Regions from separate parts of the Homo sapiens genome. Here regions 1, 2 and 4 are each linked to region 3. The links are contacts of gene promoters, found by promoter capture Hi-C in human tissues and cell types (Jung and others, 2019). All regions are on one chromosome and are shown on one strand. Each heading gives the region's core, a stretch centred on a gene start or on the middle of the fragment in contact. The rest is flanking DNA. Distances are from core to core; before and after follow the strand shown. Region 1 has its middle 8.8 kb from the start of ASPHD2. Region 2 overlaps HPS4 (HPS4 biogenesis of lysosomal organelles complex 3 subunit 2). Region 3 holds the start of CRYBB1 (crystallin beta B1). Region 4 overlaps ASPHD2 (aspartate beta-hydroxylase domain containing 2).

Region 1 (3,549 bases), core at 490-2,989, 200 kb after region 3:
AAAAAGAAAAGTAAAAATGCTGAAGAAGCCCAAGTATGAATTGGAAAAACTACTCATGGAGCTTCATGGTGAAGGAAGTAGTTCTGGAAAAGCCACTGGGGACAAGATAGGTGCTAAAGATGAGCAAGCTGATGGATATGAACCACCAGTCCAAGAATCTGTTTAAAGTTCGGACTTATAATCAGTGGGAAATAAAAAGTCCTATTTGTGAAAAAAGAAGAATTTGACAAAATTCAACACCCATTCATGATTAACAACTCTCAGCAAACTAGGAATGGAAGGGAAATGTCAACCTGATAAAAAGAACTATGATATACATTATGACAAAGTTTCTGAAAGTGTAGTAAGACAATTGTTTTGTGAAACTTTGTTTTACTTTGTGTTTGTGTGTGTGTGTGTGTGTGTGTGTGTGTGTTGCACTGGGTCCTAGAGAAGTTTTCAGAGTAGATACATGCACAAGAATGTTCGTTGCAACATTTCGTGAAAAATTTGAGGCAGCATTGATAAAAAGGAAAATGCACACACAAATTCATACAACAGGCCAGGCACGGTGGCTCACGCCTGTAATCCCAGCACTTTGGGAGGCCGAAGTGGGCGGATCATCTGAGGTCAGGAGTTCGAGACCAGCCTGACCAACATGGAGAAACCCCATCTCTACTAAAAATACAAAATTAGCTGGGCATGGTGGCACATGCCTGTAATCCCAACTACTCAGGAGGCTGAGGCAGGAGAATTGCTTGAACCTGGAGGCGGAGGTTGCGGTGAGCCGAGATCATGTCATTGCACAAGCCTGGGCAACAAGAGTGAAACTCCATCTCAAAAAAAAAAAAATTCATACAACACAATATGATGTAGTAGTTAAAGTGCATGGGCCAGAGCTAAATGCATCAAGGTGGATAAATCTCCAAAACACAATGTTGAGCTAGAAGAGCAAATTGCAGATTGATGTTTGCAACATTATTATTTTTTGTAAGTGTTTGATAGGGTCTTGCTCCGTTGCCTAGGCTGGAGTGCAGTGGCATGATCTTGGCTTATTGCAGCCTCAACCTTCTGGGCTCACCTCAGCCTCCTGAGTAGCTGGAACTATAGGCACATGCTACCATGCCTGGCTAATTTTTTGATCTTTTGTAGAGATGGGATTTTGCTATGTTGCTCAGGCTGGCCTTAAGCTCCTAGGCTCAAGACATCCTCCTGTCTCTGCCTCCAAAAGTGTTGGGATTATAGGCATGAGCCACTGCATATATACATATTCTCACTAGGGGAAACTATATATTAATATGTATTTATAGGAAAAATCTTTCATGGGGATGATCAATACGAGTTCAGTGTAGTGGTTATTTCTGAGGAGGAAGGAAGGAGGAAAGGAGAATGAGATTTGGGAGGAGCACATAAAGGGGCTTCAACAATATTTGTAATATTTTACTCCTTTAAAAATAACCAAAACAAAATGTTAAGATTTGATAAAGTTGAGTGATGGGTACATAAACATTTGTTCTATTTTTCTTTAGGAATGTTGGAAATATTATGAGATTATAAATTATAAGAAGGCAATTTGACACGGTAAAATTAACCCTTTGTTTTTGAAAGTTTGAGTTGTGAGTTTCCAACACAGCTTGAGCTATTTGGAGATTTGCAAGTGCAGCTGTTTCAAGTGTGTTTCCAGAGGTTCCTGGTAGTCCCCGCACGTCGGCAACAAGAGACAGGGGCAGAGGAAATGCCCAGGTTTCCCAGTTCTTCCCTCTGATCTGCTTGACCTTTCTCAGCTTTATATATTGGCCTCTGTATTTGGAAGCTATTATAAAAGACCCCAGGACTAAAATAACTTTGTAAACCACTGCCCCAAATAAAAGTTGGGAAGCTTTGCTCTGGGAAATATGAAGTTAAACCTGAGTCACAAATTCTAGGAAATAAGTTTGCCTAGAATATTATTTCCCTAGAATAAATGAAAGGGAATAGCCCTCCAAATGGGTTTATCACATTGGATGATTTAATTTGGTTGGTTGACACATACACATGAGTAATTCTATCTGTCCAGAAAGCAGAGCCACACACATGTGTTATAAGATGATGAATGCGTTCCCAGAACAAATCGAAATCACCTTGAGCTGATCCAATAAAGTGCTGCTAACATCTATTTAGCATTTGAACAGACGATGAACTTCCTGCTTACGTGCAAGTAGGTAGAGCTAGACACGAGCCTGCTGTTTGTGAAGCCTGGGGAAAAGCTTGCTTTTATACACTGGGGAAAGTGAATTAGTTAGAACCTCTTCCCAAAGCCATCCACCTGTTTCCACCACTGCTTTCCACTGGGTCACCCTGCACTTGTTCCACCTTGTGACCTTTATCCGGATGTCTCCAGTCATTCCATGTTCTCTAGGAGCTTTGCAATAGCTTTGGCTGGGCATGGAAACTAGGTGTGAGAGCCTGTATGTCTCCCAGATGGAAAAATAGAAATGAGAAGCGTGGCCAGGTTCCAATAAGAGATTTGAGAGAAGCAGCCCTCTATAAAATCTGGAATAGAATTCAACACCTAAGTGAACTAGATCTTGTTTTGACAACAGGCATCATTTCCCACCTCCATGAGCCTTTCTTGGTGGTAACAGACTATGACCAGTAATAGGTTTCCATTTCTGCACCCAGTTGGGGGTGATATTAAAATTACTTAATAATCTGTACACCATGGTGCCAACCATCAGAACGGATGCTGGCTGTAAAAAACAGACATGGCCATGTCATTACTTACTGATTCATACACCAGCCCCAGTCTGAGTGATACAGAAATGTAATCTTCAAGAAATTTCTGATGGGTTGTGTCTGAGTCCAGGAGCAGCTATACCTTAAAGCTTCCAGCTATAATGGAGAAGCTTCTTCCTGTTCTGAATCTACTTTTAAAAAATGTTCCCAACAGAGGGGAGGTGAACTACCTGTCAGCTACTTCTAAATGCTGAGAAGTCAACTGGGAAGGCTATTCATTTATTCAACATATAATTATTGAGCATATACTATGCTAAGCCCACTGAACATACAGCAGTGATTGTATACCAGCAGCCTCTGCGTTAAATCCAGCACAAAGATATGCTTAATGTGGCCTGCACAGGGTTTTAAAAATTGCCAACATTTAAAAATTAGGAGACACCATATAAAAATCTAGATTTTCAGTTTCTCTTGGAAAACAGCAATATCTGGTCACCCTGGGTCAGATTTCTGCAAAACAGCAAATTGGCTGGTGTGTGGTTTGCTGCAGTGCTCACCCAATCCCTCTTGCTCTCCAGCTCCAGTGACAATTGTCACTTGCCATTCTCATCCTCTTTGCACTATGTATGAGTACGTGTATGAATGTGTGTGTGTGTGTGTGTGTGTGTGAGTGTTTATAGTAAGGAAATATTTCTCTGCTCCCACGTCTCTGTCAAAAGGGGAAAAACAAAAGCCAGACCAAGAGGGCTGAATGATTTTTATTAGTCTTGGCCCCTTCTCTTGTTTCTGTTACCTGTCATGTTCCAAAGACACTTGAGTTTGCGGCTCCTGGAACACAATGATGCCAAAAACCAA
Region 2 (3,111 bases), core at 547-3,046, 160 kb after region 3:
CATAGAGCCGCTGATAGTCCATTACTCAGACCCCAAGATAATCTCCTTGACCTTCAAACACAGTGATCAGATTAATTATTTATCACTACAATAGGACATGGAGCTTCTGTGTACAGTACATGAGGCTTGAAGTTAGTGTGAGAGTGTTGCCATAAAACATTTTATGAAAAAACACCTTCCCCCAACTGGGAAACCGGTATCTCTAAGTGAATGTGTGTTCCATGCATTGCTCCTGCTGCACGCTGTGTCACACACTGACATTTGTGCCACTTGCTTTCGTGTGCACTAGAAGTCAGAGGACCCGGGAATTAGCCTCAGCTCTGTGTTGCCTAGGGCTGTTGTGAGGATCACATTATGTAGCAGTATATATCGGTGGCTGGCAAACATTTTATGTAAAGGACCAGAAAGCAAATATTTTCAGCTTTGCACAGCTTTTCAGCTCTGCTGTTGCAGTACAAAAACAGCCATAGACAGTATATAAATGGTATGACTGTATTCCAGTAATTATTTATGGACATGGAATTGGAACTTCATATAATTTGCACATGTTACAATATTATTCTTTTGACTTTTTTCCCCAACCAAGTAAAAAAATATAAAAACCATTCTTAGGTCTCAGACTGTACAAAGATAGGCAACAGGCTGGATTTAGTTTATAGGCTAGAGTTTGCTGACCCCTGGTATGTATGAAAGCACTTGGTTATCAGTAAAAATTATCCACATGTCATCTGACATAGCATCTTGTGATTAACTGTGTTTTTATGGTTAAGTGATCCTATCTTGAGTGCAAGTTAGGCAGAAGATTTTGGAAGCAAAGCTCCGTGCCTGTGGGGAAACAGTTTTTGGCATGGCTCACTCTCTGTTCTTATTGTTTCTTCCTCTGGACACCAGCTCAGCATGGAAGGGATGACTGTTAGCACGTTCTTGAGGTCCAAAAACTTTCAGTGAGGCTGTGGTTTGACTTCATCAGGTGAATGCTTATGTGTGCCCGTGTGCGTGTCGGCACATGCACACACACACATCTGTTCAAATAAGAGGCTCAGTGTTAAACGCAGTGTTGGTCAGGCTCTCTCAGTGATCTGAACATGAGATATTATGATTGTCTTTCCTGAGCACATATCTTTTTACATAGCTCTGCAACCTTGGTTTAAACCAAATAGCTCATAAATTGGCAGTGCTTGGCATTGGATGTGTTCATTTATTCATTCATTTAGTGGATTCATTTATTGAGCACCTACTAGGAGTCAGACACTCTACTAAGCATTGAGGATACAAAACTGAGCGCATAGAAAATAACTTTGTATGTCACACCTATTGACTTGAAATATCATTTCTGAGACTTTCATACAGGAAAACTGATTTAACACCAATATACTCCCAAAATAACATGTAAGCTTCATGACATTTACTTCAGAAGCATTCTGTTTGCATCTCTGTACTTTTTATATGCACTTATTTTTCTTACATAGCTGTTGAAAAATAGTCCACAAATTATCTGTGATCTCTAAAGAGACACCATTTCTTTTATATGATTATTTTCATTTCCTTGACTTTATAAAAAGACTCTGCCTCAGGATAGCACTTTAGAGTTTACAAAGGACTTTTGGATGTGTCATTTCATTTAAGTCACTCAATAGTCCCGTACTGTTCCCATTTTGCAGTTGACTAGAAAAATGAGGCACAGAAAACTTGGTAACTTGCTCCTGGTCATTTGACTAAAAAGAGGCTGAACTTGGGATGTTTTTTACCTGGGAACTGCAAATGTTTGGGGACAGTGACCTTCTTTCTTGTGGCTGAAGCAGGCCCAGGAAACCCCATTTCAGACCAAGCCTATTATGACAGGCCTGGCCTACTGAGTCAAGCCCTCAGTGGAGCTTGAGGAACACTGCACAGCCATTAAAGAATTATATGATAGAATATTTAAAGACGAGAAAAGCAGTTCATGCTGTGTTGTTAGGTTAAAAAACTATCAGTCATTATTTATGATTTGATCTCATTTTTATTTTACAGAAAAAGAGTTACACAAAACAGTTTAGTCCAGTCTTTTCAATTGTACTTAAACTTTATCTCCTTGGAGGTTTGTAAAAATACAGGTACTTGAACCCATCTCCTTGACAGTCGTCCTCAACTGTATTCCTCTTCTGAACCATCAAGTGCAGAAAGCTGTTTGACTGACACTCAGTCCTTCCAAGAAAGCCAGGACCGTGCTAGGTGTAGCAGAGAGAAGTTACCGTGTTACATCCAGTGAGGGACTTCTGTACCCAGGGCCAGTGAGAAACAATGCGGGATGGTCCCAGGCTGTTTGTATTGTGAAATCATGCAGCCTGGGTAGGAAAGCCATGGTTAAAATAAGATACACCACAGTGGTGACAGTGGCTATTACTGGATGGTGAAATGATGGGTTGTTTTCTTGTTATTTTTTTGCTCATCTCTTTTCTAAATCTCCTACAATATAATCATTATTTTTAAAAACATTAGAACATAAGGGTGAAAGAAAAATGTTGGTGAGAGTCCATTTTGCTGGATCAAGTAGGCAGTAAGATACTCCATGAATGATTTTTTTTTTTTTTTTTCGAGACAGAGTCTCACTCTATCACCCAGGCTGGAGTGTGGTGGTGCGGTCTCGGCTCACTGCAGCCTTAAACTCCTGGCTTAAGTGATCCTCCTGCCTCGGTCTCACAAAGCACTGGGATTACAGGTGTGAGCCACCGTGCCTGGCTGGAGGATTTTTTTTTTAACTAAGTCTGTGGTTAACTAGCCCTCAGAAGGCTTGCTGAGGTCAGCCCTACAAGCCCATGACCCTCTCCCCCTTTGCAGTACCACAGCAGCCTGGCTTCACTGAATGGGCTGGAAGTCCACCTGAAAGAGACGCTGCCCAGGGATGAGGCAGCCTCCACGAGCAGCACCTACAACTTCACACATTACGACCGCATTCAGAGCTTGCTGATGGGTAAGAACCAGCCAAGGGGCCTGGGGCGACGGGGATGCCAGATTCTAGATGGGTGGAGATGAGAACTTGAGCCCCAGCATCATGATGACACGGCTGTGCACAGAGTTGTCTGACCTGCGTTCAGGGCTCTCTTCTCACCGGGAGCCCAGTCCCACTGAGTG
Region 3 (3,502 bases), core at 795-3,294:
ATTGGGGTTAATCCCAGAGACTTCATCCTTATACTGAGGAGTACAGGACAATGCAAAAAAAAAAAAAGAAAAGAAAAAAAGAAAAGAAAATAAATTGGCTCCATAAGACAGGGCAAAAAAGAAAAAGATATAATGAAGGATACAATAATAATAATAAATGCTCAGAGTGGAGCCACCAACATGGTGGGCCATCCCCCTTCTCTGCCCCCACCCTCTGGCAGACAGCCCATTCCTGGGGCTTTAGGGGGGGCACGGAACTGCCCCAGATGACCTGGCTTTGAAGCCTAGACTGGTGGGTGGGCCCTCACCACAGGCGTCTTGGCCCCAGTTCCAGTGGCTACCCCATCTTGCAGTTCCTGCCCACACCCCACCCACCAAGTCTTGGCCCAGGATGAAAGGCCAAGGAGAGGCTAGGAAGCGAGGGGGTGCTGGGTGGTGGAGGGACAGAGGCAAAGCTGGCTCCAGGCCAGGGAGAGTTCAAGACAGAGCTGGGCTCCACGGGGAGCCTAGAACCCCGAAAAAGAAGAGACAGGAGCCTATCCAGATGCCCCCGCAATATACCCTGCCTGGGACTGGGGAGCCGACTGCAGGTGACCTAGCTGAGCAGCTCCCCAGGCTCCTTCTGACCCCAGCTGTACTGTGAGTTCCCGCCATGTGACTATGTTGAAGTCATTTGTTCCACCTGGGCCTCGGTTTCTCCATTTGTGAAATGGGAGGATTGGGCCCTGTGATTTCTGGCGTCTGTTCCTCCGTCCTGAGGCTTGATCACCCCAACTTGACCTCTGTCTCTCCGTCTCTCGCTCCTTCACTGTCCATGTCCCCTGTGCCTCTCTGTGTCTCTGTCTCCACCTCTCTCTTTGTCTGTTACTTCTATCTGCCTCCTTACTTCTCTCTCCTTGCCTTGGTTTCCCTATCTCCTCCGTACCCTACCTTCTGTTCCGATCCATTGGAACCACCATTGAGTCACCAGTTATTGACTGAGAACCCATGATGTGCCAAGCTCTACCTAGCCAGGCCCAGCTAGGTGCTGGGGCCAGTGGTGAACAAGATGTGGTGGGCATCTGGGGCTTGCCAGGGCAGGAGGCTCTGGGACAGGCAGTCATATTTCTGGCCACCAGCACTGTCCTCCAGGTCAGATAACGTGGCCTGGGTAGAGGCGGGGAACTGGGGTGGCGAGAGGGATCACTGTCGATAGGTCAGGAAAGGATGGGGCCCAATGTGGGGAAAAGAAAAAGACCCAGGTCTCCGATATCCAACCCAGCTGAGCACAGTGCGACTCTCCCATTCCCACCCCAACCTACAAAGAGGAAGTCAGGCCAGGGGGCCTCAGGCCAAGGTCAAGGCTGGACAGCAGGAGAAGAAAGCACACAGGCCCAGAGCTGGCTGGCCTGGGCTGGCTCTGACCTCTCTGTGCCTTCACTTTCCTCTTCTGTGAAATGGGCATAATGAAAGTACCAAATAAGGCAGATTGTCCCGGGGACTGACCGAGATAACACGGGTTCGGCACACAGTAAGCACTCCGTAAAAAAGGCTGTCCATATCAAACCCACATCTGCCTTTACAAAACGCTTCTGTGCTCATTGTCACCTTCTTTTCTATATGGCATCCAACAGGGACACGTGCCCACCTTATAATTGCAGACACAGAGGCCCCCCTAGGGGTAGAGACCTACCAAAAGCCACACAGCGCGCAGTGGCTGAGTCAGGATTCAAACTCTGGTCTCCTGCCTCCCAGGGTCTCCCCTTTTCCCTGCCCCATGTTGGCAGCCAGCAGGGACCCTTTTGGGGGCCCATCCCTGGCTGGGGTTGTTGAGAAAGGAGTCAGGGTAGGGTTGGAAGGTGAAGCTGCTGTGGCCAGGGTTTCTGCTGTGTGTGCTGGTCTCACAAAGGAAAGTGCTGCTGTCTGCAGTGATCCAGGCGAGGTCAGGGCCCCAGTCCCCCACTCCCTGCCCAGGCCTGCTGAGCCAGCTTCCCCTTTGTGCCACAGACTATAGGGCCTGATGTCTGCCAGACTATAAAATGGGGGGTCGGACTCTAGTCACCCATAGCACCTGCCCGCCTGCCTGTCCTCCAGCAGGAAGTAGCAAGTCCCCAGGTAAGAGGGAACCCACAGCCCAGCTGAGAGCTGAAGGGGAGGGGAAGAGAAAAGGGAGACAGAGAGAGGGAGGCAGAGATAGCAGTGCCATGAGAGTCAGAGAGCAGGGCCATGGAGATAAAGACGGAAGTGGAGAGAGGAAGAAAGGGAGGGAGAGGGAGAGGGGAGAGAGTGAGAAAAGACAGAAATAGAGAGAGAAGTAAATATAATTAAAAAGGACAGATAGAGAGATAAGCAAAGATACAATGAGGGAGAGATAGTGGGGGAGAGAGGAACAGAGAGGGAGAGAAACAGACAGGCAGATAGGCAGAAAGAGGGAGAGAAGTAAGAAACAGATAGAGAGGCAAAGACAGGGAAGAGAGGAGGAACAGAGGGAGAGGGTGAAGCAGGGAGAGAGAGAGAATGAGAATATCTCCAGGAAGGCATGAGTCCAGCTGCCAGCCCTGGGGGAGTGTTTAAAGCCACAGATGTGGTCCAGATGTCTGGCCTCACCCCTGGTGAACAGGGGGCACCCCAGAATATGCACAGCCTTCCTGGAGGAGGCTGGGGGAGGGATGTGCTTATCCCAACTAGCTCCGCCTTACAGAATGTGTTCGGGAATCAGCTTGACCAGAGGGTCTTAATCTGTGCTAGCAGGGGGTCCTCAAATCCCTTAACATTGTCTCCAAAGTTAAAGAGAGCATTATTTTTGTCCGGGGACAAAGTTGAGGTATTCATCAAACATTCAAAGGAGTCCACGACCCCAAAGCAACAAGGAACCACTGGAATTGACCAAAGCCCTCTCCACCCAAAGCCTACCCAGCCCCAGTCCTCATTTTCAGAACCCTCCACATGCAGTAAATACATCCTCTTGGGTCCTCCCATAAGCCTCAGTCCCCGGCCTGTATTTGCACCCATACACCAACCCCTCAGAGGAAGCAGACGGGGAAAGGAGCTGGGAGCATGCATTCATTCATTCTCTGAACAAATGTTAATTGGGCATCTCCTATGTGCCAGGTGCAGAGCAAGTGTTAGGGATGGACGGTGAATAAATCAGATTAAGCAAATGGCAGAATACTTTAAAAGCCCAGTTGCTGGCTCCATTTCCTTGAGTTGAAATCAGAGCCCTACCACTTAGTAGCTGTTTGGGCCTGAGCTGGGCCCCTTCCTTCTCCAGCCCCCTGCTGCTCAGAGGGGATCATGATAGCAGCTACTCCATCGGGTGAGGTTCATGGTCAGATGGGTTAATTAATGTATGTCACAGTGCCTGGCACACCTTAAGTACTCCCAAATGGGACTTCTTGTTATTAGTCTAGGGAGGCAAATTGGAGTTGCACAAGCAAATCAGTGTGATAAGCAGTGTGGAAAATTGCAGGGGGCTAAGGAAGGACCTAGCGGGGTAATGGAGGGTGGAACAGCTAGTGGAGGG
Region 4 (3,535 bases), core at 677-3,176, 180 kb after region 3:
GCATGAGCCACAGCACCTGGCCTGACATCTTTTTTTTTTTTTTTTTTTTTTAGATACAAGGTCTTGTTCTGTTGCCCAGGCTGAAATGCAGTGGCTCCACCATAGTTCACTGCAGCCTTCACCTCCTAGGCTCTAGAGATGCTCCAGCCTCACCCTCTTGAGTAGCTGAGACTATAGGTGTGCACCATCATGCCCAGCTAATTTAAACTTTTTTTTGTAAAGATGGGGTCTTGCTATGTTGACCGGGCTGGTCTCGAACTCCTGGCCTCAAGCTATCCTCCCACCTTGGCCTCCCAAAGTGTTGGGATTACAGGCAAGAGCCACTGCTCCTGGCCACCTCCTTTCACCATGTGAAGTCACAGTGAGAAGGTGTCATTTATGAACAAGAAGCAGGCCTTCACCAGACGCCAAATCTGCTGGCACCTTGATCTTGGGCTTCCAGCCTCAGAACTGTGAGTTCTACATTTTTGTTGTTTATAAGCCACCATCTAGATCTTCACTGCACTCTTGGCAAAAATTCATTCCTTCATTGGCTTCATCTATTCTGGGTCATGGATTCCTTTTATGAAAGTCACAGACTGACATTTGCACTACACTCTGAAGCCTAACCAGGGGACCCCCAGAAATCCAGGGAGGTTGGGTTTAGAACCTTGCCTTACCCAGTAACTGTGTTTACTGTAGTCTCCCCTCTAGGACTATCTCAGTTGCGATTAAAAAATCAAAGGCTCACACAGTGTTCTCCTCCTTGGGTTCTAGCCTTTTAATCCGTTTTGAGGCTGGAGAATGGCGTGCTCTTCGTCTGCCCTCATTCTGGGAAACTGGAGGACACTTCTAAGGTAATGGCTTAGGTTCAAGAGGAAATAGACTGGCAGCTTTGTAAGAAGCCGTATGCTTGGCTGGGCACAGTGGCTCACACCTGTAATCCCAGCACTTTGGGAGGCTGAGGGGTGGGCAGATCGCGTGAGGCCAAGAGTTCGAGACCAGCCTGGTCTCAAACATGGTGAAACCCTCTCTCTACTAATTATCCAAAATGAGCCAGGCATGGTGGCAGACGCCTGTAATCCCAGCTACTCGGGAGGCTGAGGCATGAGAATTGCTTGAACCCAGGAGGCGAAGGTTGCAGTGAGCCGAGATTGCATCACCGCACTCCAGCCTGGGCGAATCGCACCACTGCACTCCAGCCTGGGCAACAGAGTGAGACTCTGTCTCAAAAATAAAAATAAAAAATAAAAAATAAGCCGTATGCTTCAACCGGCCAGTGGGGTCCGGTTGGAACACTGCCATGTGTGACCCTCAGTCGCCCTTTCCAACACAAGGGTCTGCAGAAACACTTGGCCCCCATCACTACCTTGATGTCCAGAAAAGAAGGGGCCACCGTGGCCATCTAATGATTTCAGAAGGGGTTGGGTCAGCCCAACAGCTCTCAGGAAGGCCCACCCAGGGGGAAGCAGAGTCCTGGAAGAGGAGCTGGGATGGGTGGTGGTCTCATCTGTCTTCAGTGACTCACTGTGACCACAATGACCCTGGGCCAGTTGGCATTCCCCTCTGATTTAATGTCCTTTAGCATAAAAATGAAATAGCTTTCCTTCCAGCAGCCAGAGTATTTTAATGTATTCTTTGAACCAGAAATAATGGTTCCAGGAAGTACGTTCACAGTAATAATTCAAATAAAGAGGCCACATGGAGGAGACAGAAGGACGGAGGACTTGGGGACAGACGACTGGTTGTGACTCTTATGTGCTGTGTGACTTTGGGCAAGTCACTCAGCCTCTCTGAGCCATACCCTCACCTGTAAAGAGGGGACATTAGCATACTGAACCTTCCAGGGCTGCTATGGGACTTCTATCCTTGTTACCAATAACTGAAGACCTACTGTGTCTTCCTACTCAGCTTTGTGCTAAATACACACTTAACAGGTATCACTTCACCCACTTTCCAGATGGGGTAACTAAGAAGTTAAATGACCTGCTAAAAAGTTACCATTTAGTGTTGCTGAGTCAGCCTGACTCCAAAGAACAGGCTGTTATAAAACTGGACATGATGATATAAATGCTAGTTGTTATACTATTAACAGAGGAATTAAAGTGATTGTGGAGTTTTCGATTTTTCTTTATTTATTATTATTTTTTTTGAGACAGAATCGTGCTCTGTCGCCCAGGCTGGAGTGCAGTGCCATGATCTCAGCTCACTGCAGCCTCTGCCTCTTGGGTTCAAGCAATTCTCCTGCCTCAGCCTCCCGAGTAGCTGGGATTACAAGTGTGCACTACCGTGCCCAGCTAATTTTTGTATTTTTAGTAGAGATGGGGCTTCACCATGTTGGCCAGGCTGGTCTCGAACTTCTAGCCTCAAGAGATCCACCTGACTCGGCCTCCCAAAGTGCTGGGATTACAGGCTTGAGCCACTGTGCCTGGCCTGATTGCTGATTTTCTTGTAGTTAACATGTCTGATAGTTAATACTGAGTTTCAACTTGATTAGATTGAGGGATACAAAGTATTAATCCTGGGTGTGTCTATGTGGGTGTTGCCAAAAGAGATTAACATCTGAGTCAGTGGGCTGGGGAAGGCAGATCCACCCTTAATCTGGCAGGCACAATCTAATCAGCTTCCAGCAAATATAAAGCAGGCAGAAAAACATAAAAAAGTGAGACTGGCCTAGCCTCCCAGCCTGTATCTTTCTCCAGTGCTCGAAGCTTCCTGCCCTCAAACATCGGACTCCAGGTTCTTCAGCTTTGGAAACTGACTGGCTTTCCTTGCTCCTCAGTTTGCAGACAGCCTATTGTGGGACCTTGTGATCATGTGGGTTAATACTTAATAAACTCCCCTTTATATATATATGTGTGTGTGTGTGTGTATGTATGTATGTGTATATATATATATGTATGTGTATATATATATGTATATATATGTGTGTATATATATATGTATATATGTGTGTATATATATGTATGTATATATATGTATGTGTATATATGTATGTGTATATATGTATGTGTATATATGTATGTATATATATGTATGTATATATATGTATGTGTGTATCTATATATATGTATATATATGTGTGTGTGTATATATATGTATATATATGTATGTGTGTATATATCTGTGTGTATATATATATCCTATTAGTTCTGTCCCTCTAAGAGGACCCTAATATGTTTCAACTCTCAATAGTACATTTCATTAAATCAGCTGAGACTGCTCATCCTGACAGAAGCCATGATTTCCCACTATGGTTAACAGCAGCTGGGGGAGTCAGGGCTGTAAAGACGCCCAGATGGAGGGACTCAGAGGCTACGTTTTCCTTTGGCGTGTGCCCCTACTGGCTGGTTCAGGTGGCGAAGGCCTTTAGGAATGGGCAGTTCTCTGCAGGGACAGCCACCCCGGGGTTTCAGAAAGAAGCTCCCCTTTCTCTGGGCCACTAAATGATTCATCGCCACGTGCCACGGTGCGATAGAAAAATGGCCTGGCCTGCTGGCTTGACACCCCCCTGCTTCTTGTTCTCCGCCTCCCCTTCATTCTGCTCCTGCCCCCA

Evidence for each region. The method cuts DNA at HindIII sites, captures the fragments that hold promoters and counts their contacts. A contact is called where the count stands out against the background at its distance.
Region 1: a contact is called between a fragment that was not itself captured here and the fragment with the promoter of CRYBB1 in region 3, in 1 of the 25 tissues and cell types used here (spleen).
Region 2: a contact is called between a fragment that was not itself captured here and the fragment with the promoter of CRYBB1 in region 3, in 1 of the 25 tissues and cell types used here (small bowel).
Region 4: a fragment that was not itself captured here is called in contact with the fragment with the promoter of CRYBB1 in region 3 in 1 of the 25 tissues and cell types used here (dorsolateral prefrontal cortex).

The regions. Positions count from the first base shown.
Region 1 is chr22:26,418,685-26,422,233 of GRCh38, reverse strand. It overlaps the pseudogene RPS3AP55. Among named protein-coding and RNA genes, the nearest start is that of ASPHD2, 8.8 kb to the left of the region's middle. The HindIII fragment of the contact is 3,088 bases long and covers 196-3,283 here.
Region 2 is chr22:26,458,284-26,461,394 of GRCh38, reverse strand. HPS4 (HPS4 biogenesis of lysosomal organelles complex 3 subunit 2) reads left to right here. Exons shown (of 14, transcript NM_022081.6): 12 at 2,818-2,950. Among named protein-coding and RNA genes, the nearest start is that of HPS4, 24 kb to the left of the region's middle. The HindIII fragment of the contact is 4,986 bases long and covers 1-3,111 here.
Region 3 is chr22:26,616,569-26,620,070 of GRCh38, reverse strand. It overlaps CRYBB1 (crystallin beta B1), which reads left to right and starts at 2,044. Exons shown (of 6, transcript NM_001887.4): 1 at 2,044-2,094. It also overlaps a transcript of CRYBA4 not described here. RefSeq lists enhancers at 959-1,634, 2,313-2,990. The HindIII fragment of the contact is 18,434 bases long and covers 1-3,502 here.
Region 4 is chr22:26,437,995-26,441,529 of GRCh38, reverse strand. All of the region lies in intron 2 of ASPHD2 (aspartate beta-hydroxylase domain containing 2), which reads right to left. Among named protein-coding and RNA genes, the nearest start is that of ASPHD2, 11 kb to the right of the region's middle. RefSeq lists a silencer at 827-983. The HindIII fragment of the contact is 6,333 bases long and covers 1-3,535 here.